5 separate regions of the Homo sapiens genome follow, and all the other regions are linked to region 4. The links are contacts of gene promoters, found by promoter capture Hi-C in human tissues and cell types (Jung and others, 2019). All regions are on one chromosome and are shown on one strand. Each heading gives the region's core, a stretch centred on a gene start or on the middle of the fragment in contact. The rest is flanking DNA. Distances are from core to core; before and after follow the strand shown.

Region 1 (2,700 bases), core at 140-2,639, 180 kb after region 4:
AGTACAGATGAGGTAGAAGGAGCCTGGTCTATGTGTTCATCTTTGTGGTGGATTGAGAATAGGGAGGCTGGAGAAGAGGCTGAGGGGGAAGTCAGGGCTCACTCCTGTCCTAAAAGCAAAAGGGAGCAAAAGAACCATGTTCATCTTCAGATTCACACATTCTTCACTTTGAAAGAAAATTTAAGTTTATTAGGAAACCATATCTGTGAGGAGTTTTTATTTTTTTTTTGTTTTCTTTTTTTGAAACAGGGTCTTATTTTGTTGCCCAGGCTGGAGTGCAGTGGCATATACACTGTTCACTGCAGCCTCTACCTCCTGGGCCCTAGCAGTTATCCTACCTCAGCCTCCCATGTAGCTGGGACCACAGGCATATGCCACCAAGCCCTGCCTATTTTATTTTTTTGTAAAGACGTGTCTCACTTTGTTGCCCAGGCTGGTGGGGGGAAGTTTTAGAGATTCATTAAATAATTTGTGAAATTTAAAATAAAGGAAAATATTCTGTTTTGGGTTTTGCCCAGTGCATGTTTGGGGCTCATAGGTGAACAACATGGACAAAATAACCTCTGATATTTCAGTCCAGTAGTGATTCAAGGACTGTAACCCAAATCTCAAATGTAGGAGTTTTGGGTTACAAAACTTTTGGGAGCTGAGAGCACAGGCATCAGACCTGAAATGGAATGGACAAGGAAGGCCTCTAGGAGGAGGAACATTGGAGGAGGTTCTGGAGAGCGTGGAGCAGTGAATCTGGCAAACAGGAGAAAGAGAAGAGGAAAAAATGTGTCTGTGGCACAGGCCAGGGCATGAGAAGGGGACAGTGGATTAGAAGGACTGCTGGGATTAGCAACATGTAAGGAGGGCAGGAGCGGGAAGGGCAGACCATGGAGAGGCTGTGAAGGGGAGAGTGGGCAGGTCAGGAAGTGACACAGGGCCGGCCAGCCCACTAAGGAATGCATTTGTTGTGCTGGTAGTTCAAATATCAGTCTCGTTCCTTGCAACAGTACCTCCAGGTCAAGAAGAGTGAGGATAGCCTCTGTGTCTGAGGAGGTCCCTGTGCATTATGAGGAATTGGTTCTAGGAAGAAGGGAGAGTGAAGAGGAACAGAGAGGACCCTCCAGATCCAGTACGGGCCAACTAAGGGAACTTGGATGCTCCTGTTCATGTCCCTTTCTCCATCACTGAGACTCGCCCCATCCCACCCTGAATGCAGGTTCCTTTCCCCTCGGTTATTTTGTGCGTCTCAGATGATGACATGTATTGTAACTTTATTCTATCACATATGACTTTTACATTATATCATAGAAAAAGTTACTTACATAAATTACTTAATGGTGGATTAGTCATAGTTAAAATGTTGTCAGCTTGGTAAACAAATGAAATTATCACACTTTAGTTTTTCTTCGTTGATCATTTATGAAGATTAGTGTCTCCTCATTTCATGGATGTCACAACTACATGTTCTTAAGTAAGGTGTATGCTTGGGGTGTTGTGTTTTCCCTGTTAATGTTGGATACTCCAGTGTTCAGCAAACTATAAACCTATCAACACACATTTGAAAAATCCAGTTGTTTTGTGTTTTATTTCGTGTATCCTGTCTTTACAATATTATATCTTTTCTTCTGCTTACTTGAAATTTAATTTGCTCTTCTTTTTCTAGGTTCCTAAGATGGAAACTTAGGCGATCATTGGGCATCATCATAGGGTCTACCTGCCAAATCAGGTCTTCTTCATTCTGCAAAAGTTTCTCAGTCACCACTTATATTTCATGACTTTGACCCTTGTGAAAATACCAGTCAGATATCTTGTGGAATGTCCCACAATGTGTATTTGTCTGATGGTTTCTCATAATTAGACTAGAAACAATGTGTAAATTAAACATATTTTTCCAAATTAGAAAACAAGAAAAACAGAATAACATATTAGTTAGAAGTATTAACATAGGGCTGGACGCAGTGGCTTATGCCTATAATCCCAACACTTTGGGAGGTGAAGGTGGGCAGATTAATTGAATCCAGCAATTCAGCAATTCAAGACCAATCTGGGCAACATGGCAGAACGCTGTTTCTAAAAAAAATGCAAAAAATTAGCTAGGTGTTGCAGCATATGTCTGCAGTCTCAGCTACTCGGGAGGCTGAGGTGGGAGGATTGGGAGGGTGGCCTGAGCTTGGGAGGTCAAGGTTCACTGAGCTGTGATTGTGCCATAGCGCTCCAACCTGGGCAAGAGAGTGAGACCATATCTCAACAAAAAAGAGAGAAAAGAAAAAATAACAGAGAAAAATAATTTTTAAAAATCAGGTAATGACAAATAGGGAATTCCAAATATATTGCTAATGGTCTGTTAAGCTTGACAGTGCTTTTAGAAAACTTGTTCTGTTTAGAATAGTGTTAGACTCACAGAACAAATTGGTAATATAAAGAGTTTACATATACCACACACAGTTTTCCTTATTATAAATCTTAACATTAGTGTGTTACGCTTGTTACAATTAAGAACCAATGTTAAACATTATCATTCACTGCTATCCATGCTTTATTCACATGTCCTTAATTTCACTTAATGTCCATTTTTTGATTCTGGAATCCCATCCAGGATGACACATCATATTTAGATGTCATTCCTCTTTATGCTTCATAAGCTGTTGACACTTCCTTCAACTTTCCTGGTCTTTCATGACATTGACATACTTCATTAGGAAGTTGTCT
Region 2 (2,700 bases), core at 144-2,643, 160 kb before region 4:
AGAAGATAGGAAATATTTGGGAGTCCTTAGAGACTGATGAAGTGTTTGTGACCACACTGCTTCGGGAGAAATGGCGCCATATAATGCATGCTGGTTCAGAGCATATACTGCCTTCTAGAGAACCTTGCCCCACAGTTACACAATATTGTCATCTAGCAGGTGCTGGAACTGTAACTCCCAAAGGTCATTCCACCATTGTTTCAAGTGAGTTGCTTCAGGATTATAGGGAACATGGTGAATTCACTGAAGTTTCTGAGCATGAGCTCATTTCTACCCTTCTTTGTCTGTGACGTGAGTTCCTTGTTCAGAAGCAATGCTGTGTGGAATACCATGATGGTAGATAGGCATTAAGTCCATGGATGGTAGTTTCCACAGAATACTTGCATGCAAGGAAGTAAAATTTATAGATGGAGTAACTGTCTTACTATTCCAGGAAGAACAAAATGCTGCCCCTTCCCTGATGAAAGCTGCCCAATGTAATCAACCTACCACAAGGAAATTGGCAGATCTTCCTGGGGAATGGTGCCATATAGAGACTTGGTGTTAGTTTCTGCTGCTGACAGTTGGAACACTCAGAGGGGTCTGTAACCTGGTTGGCCATGGTGAAAGGAATTCCAGATTGCTGTGTGTATGCAAAACCTCAGTCCCTACCACAGTGGCCACTTTATTCATAAGCCCGGTGACTGATGACATAGGTGCCTGGGAAAAGAGGCTGACTACTGTCAGAGAATGCATGATCACATCCACCGGATGATTAGAGTCCAGAAGAGCTATGGTAAGAGAGTGAGTCAGTTTTCCTCTGTTTCCCAGCACAGTTTAGCCAACGTTCTCGTTAAGCTTTAAGTGGCTTTTTCTGCTTCTCCTGAGGCCTGGGGTCTCCTTGCTGTGTGGAGTTTTCAGGGGATTTCTAGGTCTTGGGCTACCTTTTGAGTGATTTAAGATATAAAAGCTTTCCCACTGGCCGGGCATGGTGGCTCATGTCTGTACTTTGGGAGGCCAAAGCTGGCTCATGCCAGCACTTTGGGAGGCCAAGGCAGGCGGATCATAAGGTCAGGGGTTTGAGACCAGCCTGGCCAACATGGTGAAACTCCGTCTCTACTAAAAAATACAAAAAAACAGCCAGGCGTGGTGGTGGGCACCTGTAATCCCAGCTACTCTGGAGGCTGAGGCAGGAGAATTTGTTGAACCCGCTAGGCAGAGGCTGCAGTGAGCTGAGATCACGCCATTGCACTCCAGCCTGGGCAACAGGGTGAGACTCCATCTCAAAAAAAAAAAAAAGAAAAAAAAAAAACTTGTCCACTACATGGTTTTAGGCAGCCCAAACCCAGGAAAAATATCCTTTAAGAGATGGCATGATACCTCCGAGGTGGTATCAGAGCGAGTTGATCACCTTTATCCATCGTGGGAAGATAACAACCACACCTAGAAGGTATCTAAAGTTCCCGGGGGTCTGGAGCATGACCGTAAAGTGTGTTTGCCAGTCCTTGCCAGGGTAAATTCCCCTAAATTGTACTCCTTAACATGAGGCCTTGAGGGTGATCTGTTATGGGGACTGTTAGTGTGGCAGAGAGAGCAACTGTGGGTCACTTGCTGCACTGTCTCCAAGGTTGGGAGTGGTCATCGTTTGAAGGAGCCAATTGTACAGGGTTATCTACCATAATGTGAGCTCTCATGGGCCTCCTTAACTACCTGGATAGCTATGGATTTTTGAAAAAATAATTGTGAGAAATTTCAAACCATCCTGGATATCCTCTGCTTTTTAAGAAGACTTCCCAGGGGGATTACTGCTAGGGAGCCAGTGTGCCAATTACAGAGACTGCTGGTGTCAAAGAGGCTTTGGGTCTCAGGGGAGACCAGGTGTCACAGTGCTCTTCATGGCTTCATGGGGAGAGTCTAACTCAGGAAATATTTGCTTGCCTTCTCTGGCTTTTATCCTCGTGGAAGTCAATTTACATGTTTTCTTGTAGTCCCTTATTCTGGCATAGGGCCATTAATACCTTTTTTTTGTTTGTTTGTTTGCTTTTTGCTTTTGGTAAAAGAGATCTAGTTAGAGAATTTCCCACTATCTGAAATGAAAATACCTTATAAGTGTTCAGAGTACTTGTTACTGCACATCCACTAGTTTAAATCTGCATAATGTTATCAATGCCTTGGACCAGTGTAGTATCCTGTGGAAGGAGAAGGTGATCAACTTCCTGCAAACTGTGACTTTGTTATGGAGAGTTGATATTATGTTGAGGTAGGACAGAGAAGTTATTGACACTGAAATTAAACGACTTCTGGTGGGCCTTATGAAGAGAAATAGAGAAAAAGCTTCATTAGATCAATAGGTGCATACCAGGTATCAGGGAATGTGTTAATTTGCTCAAGCAATAAAACTACATCTGATATAGCAGTTGCAATTACAAGGAACACTTGGTTTAGCTTGTGGGAATCCACTGTCACTCTCCAGGATCCATCTGTCTTTTGCACAGGCCAAGTTAGACAGGGATGTGTTAGAATCTCTACCCCTGCATCCTTCCAGTCCTTGATGGTGGTGGTAATCTCTACAGTCACTCCAGAGGTGTGGTTATGAATTTGATTTTCTATTTTCCTAGGTAGAGGCAGCTCTAGTGCCTTCCATTTAGATATTCCCACCATACTAGCGCCCACTCCACAGGTCAGGGAACCAATGTGGGAAATGTGCCAGGTGCTAACTAT
Region 3 (2,700 bases), core at 156-2,655, 130 kb after region 4:
TCTGATAATATCATTATCATCAAAACTTTTAGAGTAGCTGTCAGTAGGTTACAAATATAATCTCACAGAGGATAATACAGAACTCTCTAAAGATATGAGGCAAAGCCAAAGCTTATGATAAGCACAGGTGATGATAATTTGAGGAAAGTCATGAAAACGGTGAGTTGAGAAGTGATTCAGAAGAGTTTGATCTCATGAGAGCTATTTTAGGATTATCTCTGTTAATGTATCCTGTTTTAATTTTTCATCTCATGTACTCATAGGAGTGATATAAGATAAATAACATGTTGAATTCACTTCCTGTGTATATATTCCCAGAAGTGGAATAGCTGGATAATATGGTAGTTCTATTTTTAGTTTTTTGAAACCTTCATTTTTTTTTCCACAATGGCTGTACTAATTTGCATTCCCACCCACAGGGATTCCCTTTTCCACATTTATTTAAGTTCAATAAAATTGTAATCAATAATAATATAAAAATTCTAAGTGATAATAAATATTTGTGTCACAGTTTTTCAGTGGTTTTATTTTTTGTGGCAAAAAAATAATGGTGCATTTTACCAATGATGCATCTTGTAATTACTTAGGAAAAGCTGTCAGTATTAGCAAATTCTAATTTAGTTGTTAGTATAGACCTGCATTAGTCTATGTGCTCTATGTATTACTAGTTCCTTTAAACCTCACAACATCCCAAGAGGTAGGCAATATTATCACTTCCATGCTCCAGTTCTGAATCTTAGCTAAAGCACTTCAGTAAAAAATAGGAGATGCTGGAGCTTGACTGGGTCTGTCTCCAGAGTCCTTGCTCACATTAGCTATGTTACGATATATTTTGTGATAAGAACCTTCTAGATCTAGTTTCAGAAATCTTATATACCCCATGGTCATGAAGCTATTCTCCTAAATTAGGTCCTAAATACCGTACTAATTTTTTTTAAAAAAATATCTAGGTCCGGCCAGGCACGTTGGCTCACGCCTATAATCCCAGCACTTTGGGAGGCCAAGGTAGGCAGATCATAAGGTCAGGAGTTCGAGACCAGCCTGACCAACATGGTGAAACCCATCTCTACTAAAAATAAAAAAATTAGGCATGGTGGCGTGCACCTGTAATTCCAGATACTCAGGAGGCTGAGGCAGGAGAATCATTTGATCCTGGGAGGCAGAGGTTGCAGTGAGCTGAGATTGTACCACTGCATGCCAGCTTGGGTGACAGAGCGAGGCTCTGTCACAAAATATATATATATCTAGGTCAGTGATCCATCTGGAATTGATTAATTTTGAAATGTGAGATCAAATGTCTATTTTATTTTCTCCTACGGATATTTAATTTTTTGGAACATATATTGAAAAATCAATATTCCCTATTTATCTTTCTTTACACTATTTTTCTTACATATTCTTTTGTCCTTTTTTGAGCTTTCTTTTTTCATTTGTTTATTTCTGTATTTTTCTGCGAATACTAAAGTAACTCAGTTACTGAGAGACTTCATTTTACACAAGAATTTTCCCTCCAGAGTCCATTCTCTTCATCACTGTGCTGTTCTAGAATGAAGAAATGAAAGAGTAGGATCCTGCATTCCTTGCACCCCAACCAAAAATACCAGGTGTACTTTGTTTTGTTTTGTTTTGTTTCAATAGAGTTTAAGACTTCAGAACATGACTGTTGACACTAATGTCTCTAACGTCTTTGTGACTCTCAGACAACCCCAACCAACTTCACTACCACTTTATTTTTCAGTAACAAATCAGTGAATTTTATGTGATTTTGTGCCTTCTCTTCCACCACTCTGGGCTTTCTCTATCCTTAGAAACATTGGCAGGAGCTTGGAGAGTCATCCCTGGGTGCATCCCGCTCATGTGGATGAGCCTCAGTGGACTTGGTCTTACTCCTCTGGACCATGACCCATCAAAGTCCTGGCTGTGGCAGGCAAAGCTGAGCTGAGGGCTCTCTGTGAGGCCTGCATGGGCAAAACCAGCTGCTCCCAACACTCCCTAAGTGATCTGTTTGGGTATTCATTCTGTTTTTAATAAAGAATGAGTTTGTTCAACAATGACTGAGCTTGCTGACCAAGGATAATTACCCTTCAGACCTTGTCTGATAATGTTTGTTCTTGCTTTTGCTTTGGCACACAGTTTTCAACACTTTGTATTAATTTTTATTTGTTTTGGTCACATAACAATTTCTGCAACCAAATTCATATTTTTGTCTTGTGTATTAATTTCATTATTGTATTTAATAATGCACTTATACCCATTTTTCATAAAACCTTTTCAATTATTTTCATCTTTTCAGTCATAAAATTTTCCTAAATAGAATAGGAATATGACTTTTATTGGGAAAAGCAGATGCTACACACCCTTTTTCCGTGTTTTCCAGGAATTTCCACTGAAGTACCTCTGGTTGAAAAGGAGAACAGAGACTTTTTTCACAGCCACAGGACAAAATTTGTTCAGAATTAAATGCTGAAAAAGGAGGTATGATTGTTTTCATTATATGGCTTAGTTTGTTATAATTGTGGAAGATGCACAAGGCATTAGTTTATACAGGCAGAATACTGAATCTTCAATTCTGAATGCAAAGAATAGCCATTTTGTCACTGAGCAAGCATAAATATCATACTGTTACTCTTTATCCAAAAGCTATAGACATGGCTGAAGTCTTTGATTCCTTCTAACTTGTTGTAAATGTATGCATGTAAT
Region 4 (2,700 bases), core at 50-2,549:
GACTATAATCTTTACATATTTAGATCCTTCAAACTAGACCAAAAAGGAAATCTGGGCTGCAAGGCTCAATTAGAAGAACAGTGTGGGATGCTGCTTTGCTGACTATTGGGGGTCGCTGCCCCATGTCTTCAGAGGAGACTGGAGCCCAGTGCCTGCCATGACCAACTTATGAGGTGAAGTAAGGGCTTCCCCCTAGGAACGCATGTGCTTAATACAGATGTGCTGTGTGCTAGGTACCCTAAGGACTACAGGAAATAATGAGAATACATGATGTGTCCATAACAAGGAGGCACACAGGCCACGGCACCAGCTCTGGAATCACACAGCCCAGGTTCGAAGCCTGGCTAGGCCACTGTCATATCAATGACCCAAGGAGCAAGCAGCCTAAGGCTTAAATGTTGTTGCTGTTGTTTGTTGTGGTTTTTTGTTTTTGTTTTTGTTTGAGACAAGAGTTTTGCTCTGTTCCCCCAGGCTGGAGTGCAGTGAGGTGATCTCAGCTCACTGCAACCTCCACCTCCCGCTTTCAAGCGATTCTCCTGCCTCAGCCTCCCTAGTAGCTGGGATTACAAGTGCGTGCCACCACGCTCAGTTAATTTTTGTATTTTTAGTAGAGATGGGGTTTCACCATGGTGGTCAGGCTGGTCTCGAACTCCTGACCTCAGGTGATCCACCCGCCTTGGCCTCCCAAAGTGCTGGGATTAAAGGCGTGAGCCACCGCGCCCAGCCTTAAATGTTGTTTAAAACAAATTTGTGAAAAGAAGTGAAGAGGCCCTGCCTGCCAGGAAGAGATGTGGTAGGGCGTAGCATCTAGTCAGGACAAGGCACCACGTCCCCTCCTCGGAAACCCTCACGGCCTGGCTGGTGACCCTGGCGCCACAGAGACGGCACACCTGGCTCCAGGCAGCACAGAGCACTGCCAAGGTCCTAGAGGAGGCTGGCAGGATATAGGTTGTCCTGTGCTTAACTTGAAGCAGATGTGCCCTCTGTGAACCGGGGAATGGGGACGGCCGACACAGGGCCACTGCGTGCAACAGCGCCGGGCCAGGGCTAAGGAACAGGCAGAGCCGGCGCCCAGGTGACAAGAGCTCTGGCGATGGGCCCGCAGGCCCCAGCAGTTCCCTCATAGAGGCCACGCGGTGCAACACCTGCCACCGGCAGCGGGGCTTCCGGGGGTCCTGGGGCAGCTGGGGCCGACGGGGCGTCGCCCTTTGCCCTCTGACCCCTGCCTTTTGCGCCCCCGCTGGCGCTCCCTGGTTCTGTGAGGAACCTCGCGGCGGCGTCGCAGGCGTAGAGCCAGTCAGTTTGTGCTTGGTCGCCAGAGGAGGCGGTGGCTGAGGAGAGTTGAGTCCACTGCTGACCCTGTTTTACGGTAGGAGGCACGGCTAGCTCTAAATGGGCAATTTACTTAGTAAATTTAGACCCGGGTGCCGCCGCCGGCCCCTGCCAGGGCCAGGGCGTGGCGCCCCCGCTCCCCTGTCCCGGGACGCCTCCCCGCCCGGTCGGGCTCACTCTGTACCCACCCCGCGCCCTTTCCGCGGCCTGTTCCGCCGGAACGCCCGTCGCAGGCCTTCAGCAGCCAGCATCTTCGTCGCCCCTAAGAGGCCGTGTCCTCTCCCTCGGGCTGCGGCCGCCCCTCTGGGGGTCCTGCCGGCTGTGGGTTGGGGGCTGGCCATCAGGAAGACACCCATGCTGCCTGCTCGGAACCCCCCGAGGTTTGGACACCCCAGTTCCGTAAGGATCCCTCCTCCCAGCCGCATGTTCACTCTCCTGCTGCCTTCACCACGTGAGCCGGCGGTCAAGGCCAGGAAGCCCATCCCAGCCACTCTCCTGGAGGAGACCGAGGTGTGGGCCCAAGAAGGGCCCAGAAGAGTGAAGAAGGATGAGGATCCGGTGCAGATCGAAGGGGAGGATGACGAGAAAAGGACCCCCCTTAGCAGCGGAGAAGCATCGTCCACATCCAGGTCCCAGGGCACCCAGGGAGACGTGGCCTCCTTCAGATGCAGCCCTGGGCCTCTGGAGGGAAATGTCTACCACAAGTTCTCAGAAAACAGCATGAGTGAGAAGGCCCAGGCGTCTCCAGCGAGCTCCTGCTTGGAAGGCCCTGCCATGCCCAGCACACACAGCCAGGCCGGATGTGCCCGGCATCTTGGAAAGCCTGATCCGGATGCAACAGCGCCCCCTGAGCCAGCCGTTGGCTGCTCCCTGCTGCAGCAGAAGTTGGCTGCGGAAGTGCTGAATGAAGAGCCACCGCCCAGCTCCCTAGGCTTGCCGATTCCGCTGATGTCCGGAAAGAGGATGCCTGATGAGAAGCCTTTCTGTATTCCTCCAAGGAGCGCTGCTCCTCCCAGAGCTGCCCGCAACAGGCCCTGCAAAAGGAAAATGTCGATTCCATTGCTGCTGCCGCTGCCCCCTTCACTGCCATTGCTGTGGGATCGAGGTGAGCTTCCCCCACCTGCTAAGCTCCCCTGCCTGTCTGTTGAGGGAGACCTACACACCTTGGAGAAGAGCCCTGAGTATAAAAGGAATAGCAGAATCTTGGAGGATAAAACAGAGACCATGACAAACAGCAGCATCACCCAGCCTGCCCCTTCTTTCTCCCAACCTGTGCAGACCACAGACTCCCTGCCCCTGACCACTTACACTTCCCAGGTCTCAGCTCCTTTGCCCATCCCTGACTTGGCTGACCTGGCTACTGGACCC
Region 5 (2,700 bases), core at 82-2,581, 180 kb before region 4:
TTTGCAATATACCCTTTAGATTTGTGAAATGTATCTCATGGTTGTTTAGAGTTGCATTTTCCTAATGACAAAAGACTTAGGCCTCATATCATGTGCTTACTAGATGTGACTATAGTATCTTTGGATACATGTCTATTCAGATAGTTCACCAATTTGATTGTGATATTTGCCTTTTTATTTTGAGTTGTAAAATATTTTATATATTGTGGCTAATATATTCTTTTCTGCTATGTGATTGTGAAGATTTTCTTCTATTCTTTGTGTTATCTTTTCACTTTTAATTATGTACTTTGAATCTCAGAAATTTTTAATTCTTACAAAGTTAAATATATTCATTTTTTAATTTCCTTTTCTTGGGCTTTAAGTATCATATCTTAGAAATTATAGGAGTTATTGTTTAAGCTAAGACCCAAATTATGTATTTCTATATTATCTTCTAAGGGTTTGGTCTATTTAGCTCTTACATTTGGATATATGATTACTTTGAGCCAATTATGTATATGGTGTGAGTGAGAAGTTCAACTTCCTTGTGGATATTCAATTGTCCTAGCAACATTTGTTAAAATATATTTTTCCATATTGAATTGGCTTGGCAGACTTATAAAATCATTTGACTATAAAGGTAAAGATTAATTTTTGGACATTCAATTCTACCATATTCCTTTGATCTGTATGTCCAAGTTTATGCTATTATTGAGCCTTTAAATTAAATTATGATGATACTGAGTTTTTCATGGATGCCCTTTAAAATAAAGAAACTTTCCTTATAGGCTTAATTTGTTGTATACTGTTATCAAAAATGGATTTTAGATTTGTCAGGTGCCTTTCCTGCATCTTTTGAGATGATCATATGGCTTTTGTTTTTTATTTTATTCTTATAGGTCATGACACTAATTATTTTGTATGTTGAACCAAATTTGCATTCCTGGGACAAATACCATTGGTGATGGTGTATAATTCTTTTTACATTTGCTGATTTGTATTGCTAGCATTTTATTGAAGACATTTACCCTCTATTTATAAAAGATATTGGTCTTAATTTTTCTTTCTTGAGATGTCTTGCTTTAGTTTTAATATCAGTGTAAACTAATAGTATACATCAGGAAGTGATCTCTTCTCCACTTTTACTGTTGTTTAAGTTTTTATGAAGAGTTTGTGATAGATTGTTATTAATTATTTTCAGGTTTAGAATAGTTCACCAGTGAAGTCATCTCAACCAGCACAGGGCCTTGACTCCTAACAACAATCACACGAACTTGGAAGAGGAGCCTTCCCCAACTGAACCTTCGCTTGAGACCTCGTCCTTGGCCATCCTCTACATCTGGATTCATGATACAGAGAAACTGTGAGTAAGAGCCACTCAGTGTGTGAGAATTTATTATTCAGCAGTAAATAATACACCTGACAGTCAATGCAATGTGGTATCCTGGACAGAAAAATGACATTACTTAAAAGCCTAGTAAAATATGGAAAAAGCCTATACTTCAATAAATAGTTTTGTGCCAACTGTTTTTTAGGGCTCATGGTTACATAATCTATTACATTGCATGTAATTCAAAGATATCTAAAGCTTTCTGTAGTATCTTTGCATATTTCTGTGTATTTAAAATTATTTCAAAGAAAAAATGTTTTTGAAAAAAGCATTAAATGTGATATGAAAATAATCTCAAAGCACAAACAGAATACCTTCAGCTCAGGAGATGAAAGGGCACGTAGAGAGAGAATAGCAAAGCATCTTTCCATATTGATTTACCAACTCGAACACAGGTACACTTGCTTCAGGAAGATCCCCCCAAGTTCCAGAGACTCATCCTCTTTCATCTTCTTCATCATATTCCGCATTTTTCACTCACCAGTTTTAGCATCTGGTGCTAACTACGTAACCAGTTTTTGAAAGACAGATGCCTATTACTCGCATGTCTCAAAAAGCCCCATTTTCAGATATAATTTAGCAGGACTCCAACAAACAGACCAGAATTTATTGAGAGCTTGCAGTGAGGAGTGCCTTAATTCCAACACGACTATGTTGACAACACATCCTCTTGTGAGTGAAGCATTCATACAGAATGAGTCGTTGAAACTCAATAACATATGCCTACTGTACAAGAAAGGTAATAATCAATATAATGCTCTAAAATTATTCTGGGGACATAGGGGACATTTGTCCAAGATTTATGAGATGTGAGCAACCAAGAGAGCGTGAACACTGATATTTAACAAGTGCTCCAAATCAGTAGATGGGCATTTGATTTTCCAGTTAGGGCTGCAGTCAGGGTCTCTTAGCTTCAATACTATACACAGAGAATTTCAATGACAGATCTTGATTAAAATAACAATAATAACAACCCCTCATTTTTATATTGCAGCCTGGCACCATTTAACTTAATTTTACTGCATAAAAATAGCAATCCTATACTCCATGCAAACTAGAATGGCAGTGGAATTTATGTAGTGAAGAAAGTGACAAATTATTTTCCAAATATAAAGCAAACTTAAGGTTTTATAGGGAAATAAATGGGGGTAAAAATATTTTAATCCTTATTTTTCTGATAATTGTGTTCTGCTCTTATAAATAGAAAGCTGCACTTTCATTATTTTATAATATAGTGAGTTTATCAGCCACCTGTATGAAAATTGTATAGTAAGAGTAGGTATGTGTCCACTTGGTTGGTTCATTCGACTTATACACATCATTTACTT

The links. Contacts are between HindIII fragments. The study calls those that stand out against the background at their distance.
Region 1: a fragment that was not itself captured here is called in contact with the fragment with the promoter of NPAP1 in region 4 in 2 of the 25 tissues and cell types used here (H1 embryonic stem cells and liver).
Region 2: a contact is called between a fragment that was not itself captured here and the fragment with the promoter of NPAP1 in region 4, in 4 of the 25 tissues and cell types used here (heart left ventricle, lymphoblastoid cells, mesendoderm cells and 1 more).
Region 3: a contact is called between a fragment that was not itself captured here and the fragment with the promoter of NPAP1 in region 4, in 6 of the 25 tissues and cell types used here (H1 embryonic stem cells, aorta, hippocampus and 3 more).
Region 5: a fragment that was not itself captured here is called in contact with the fragment with the promoter of NPAP1 in region 4 in 6 of the 25 tissues and cell types used here (dorsolateral prefrontal cortex, heart left ventricle, liver and 3 more).

Annotation. Positions count from the first base shown.
Region 1 is chr15:24,850,697-24,853,396 of GRCh38, forward strand. All of the region lies in intron 2 of SNHG14 (small nucleolar RNA host gene 14), which reads left to right. It also overlaps a transcript of SNRPN not described here. Among named protein-coding and RNA genes, the nearest start is that of SNHG14, 28 kb to the left of the region's middle. The HindIII fragment of the contact is 8,543 bases long and covers 1-2,700 here.
Region 2 is chr15:24,518,302-24,521,001 of GRCh38, forward strand. It overlaps a transcript of LOC105370733 not described here. Among named protein-coding and RNA genes, the nearest start is that of PWRN1, 39 kb to the right of the region's middle. The HindIII fragment of the contact is 3,349 bases long and covers 1-2,700 here.
Region 3 is chr15:24,805,447-24,808,146 of GRCh38, forward strand. No RefSeq gene overlaps it. Among named protein-coding and RNA genes, the nearest start is that of SNHG14, 17 kb to the right of the region's middle. The HindIII fragment of the contact is 8,494 bases long and covers 1-2,700 here.
Region 4 is chr15:24,674,476-24,677,175 of GRCh38, forward strand. NPAP1 (nuclear pore associated protein 1) reads left to right here and starts at 1,300. Exons shown (of 1, transcript NM_018958.3): 1 at 1,300-2,700. The coding sequence starts at 1,393. The HindIII fragment of the contact is 8,790 bases long and covers 1-2,700 here.
Region 5 is chr15:24,490,283-24,492,982 of GRCh38, forward strand. The region is part of intron 2 of LOC105370733 (a long non-coding RNA gene); the gene reads left to right. Among named protein-coding and RNA genes, the nearest start is that of PWRN3, 51 kb to the left of the region's middle. The HindIII fragment of the contact is 7,283 bases long and covers 1-2,700 here.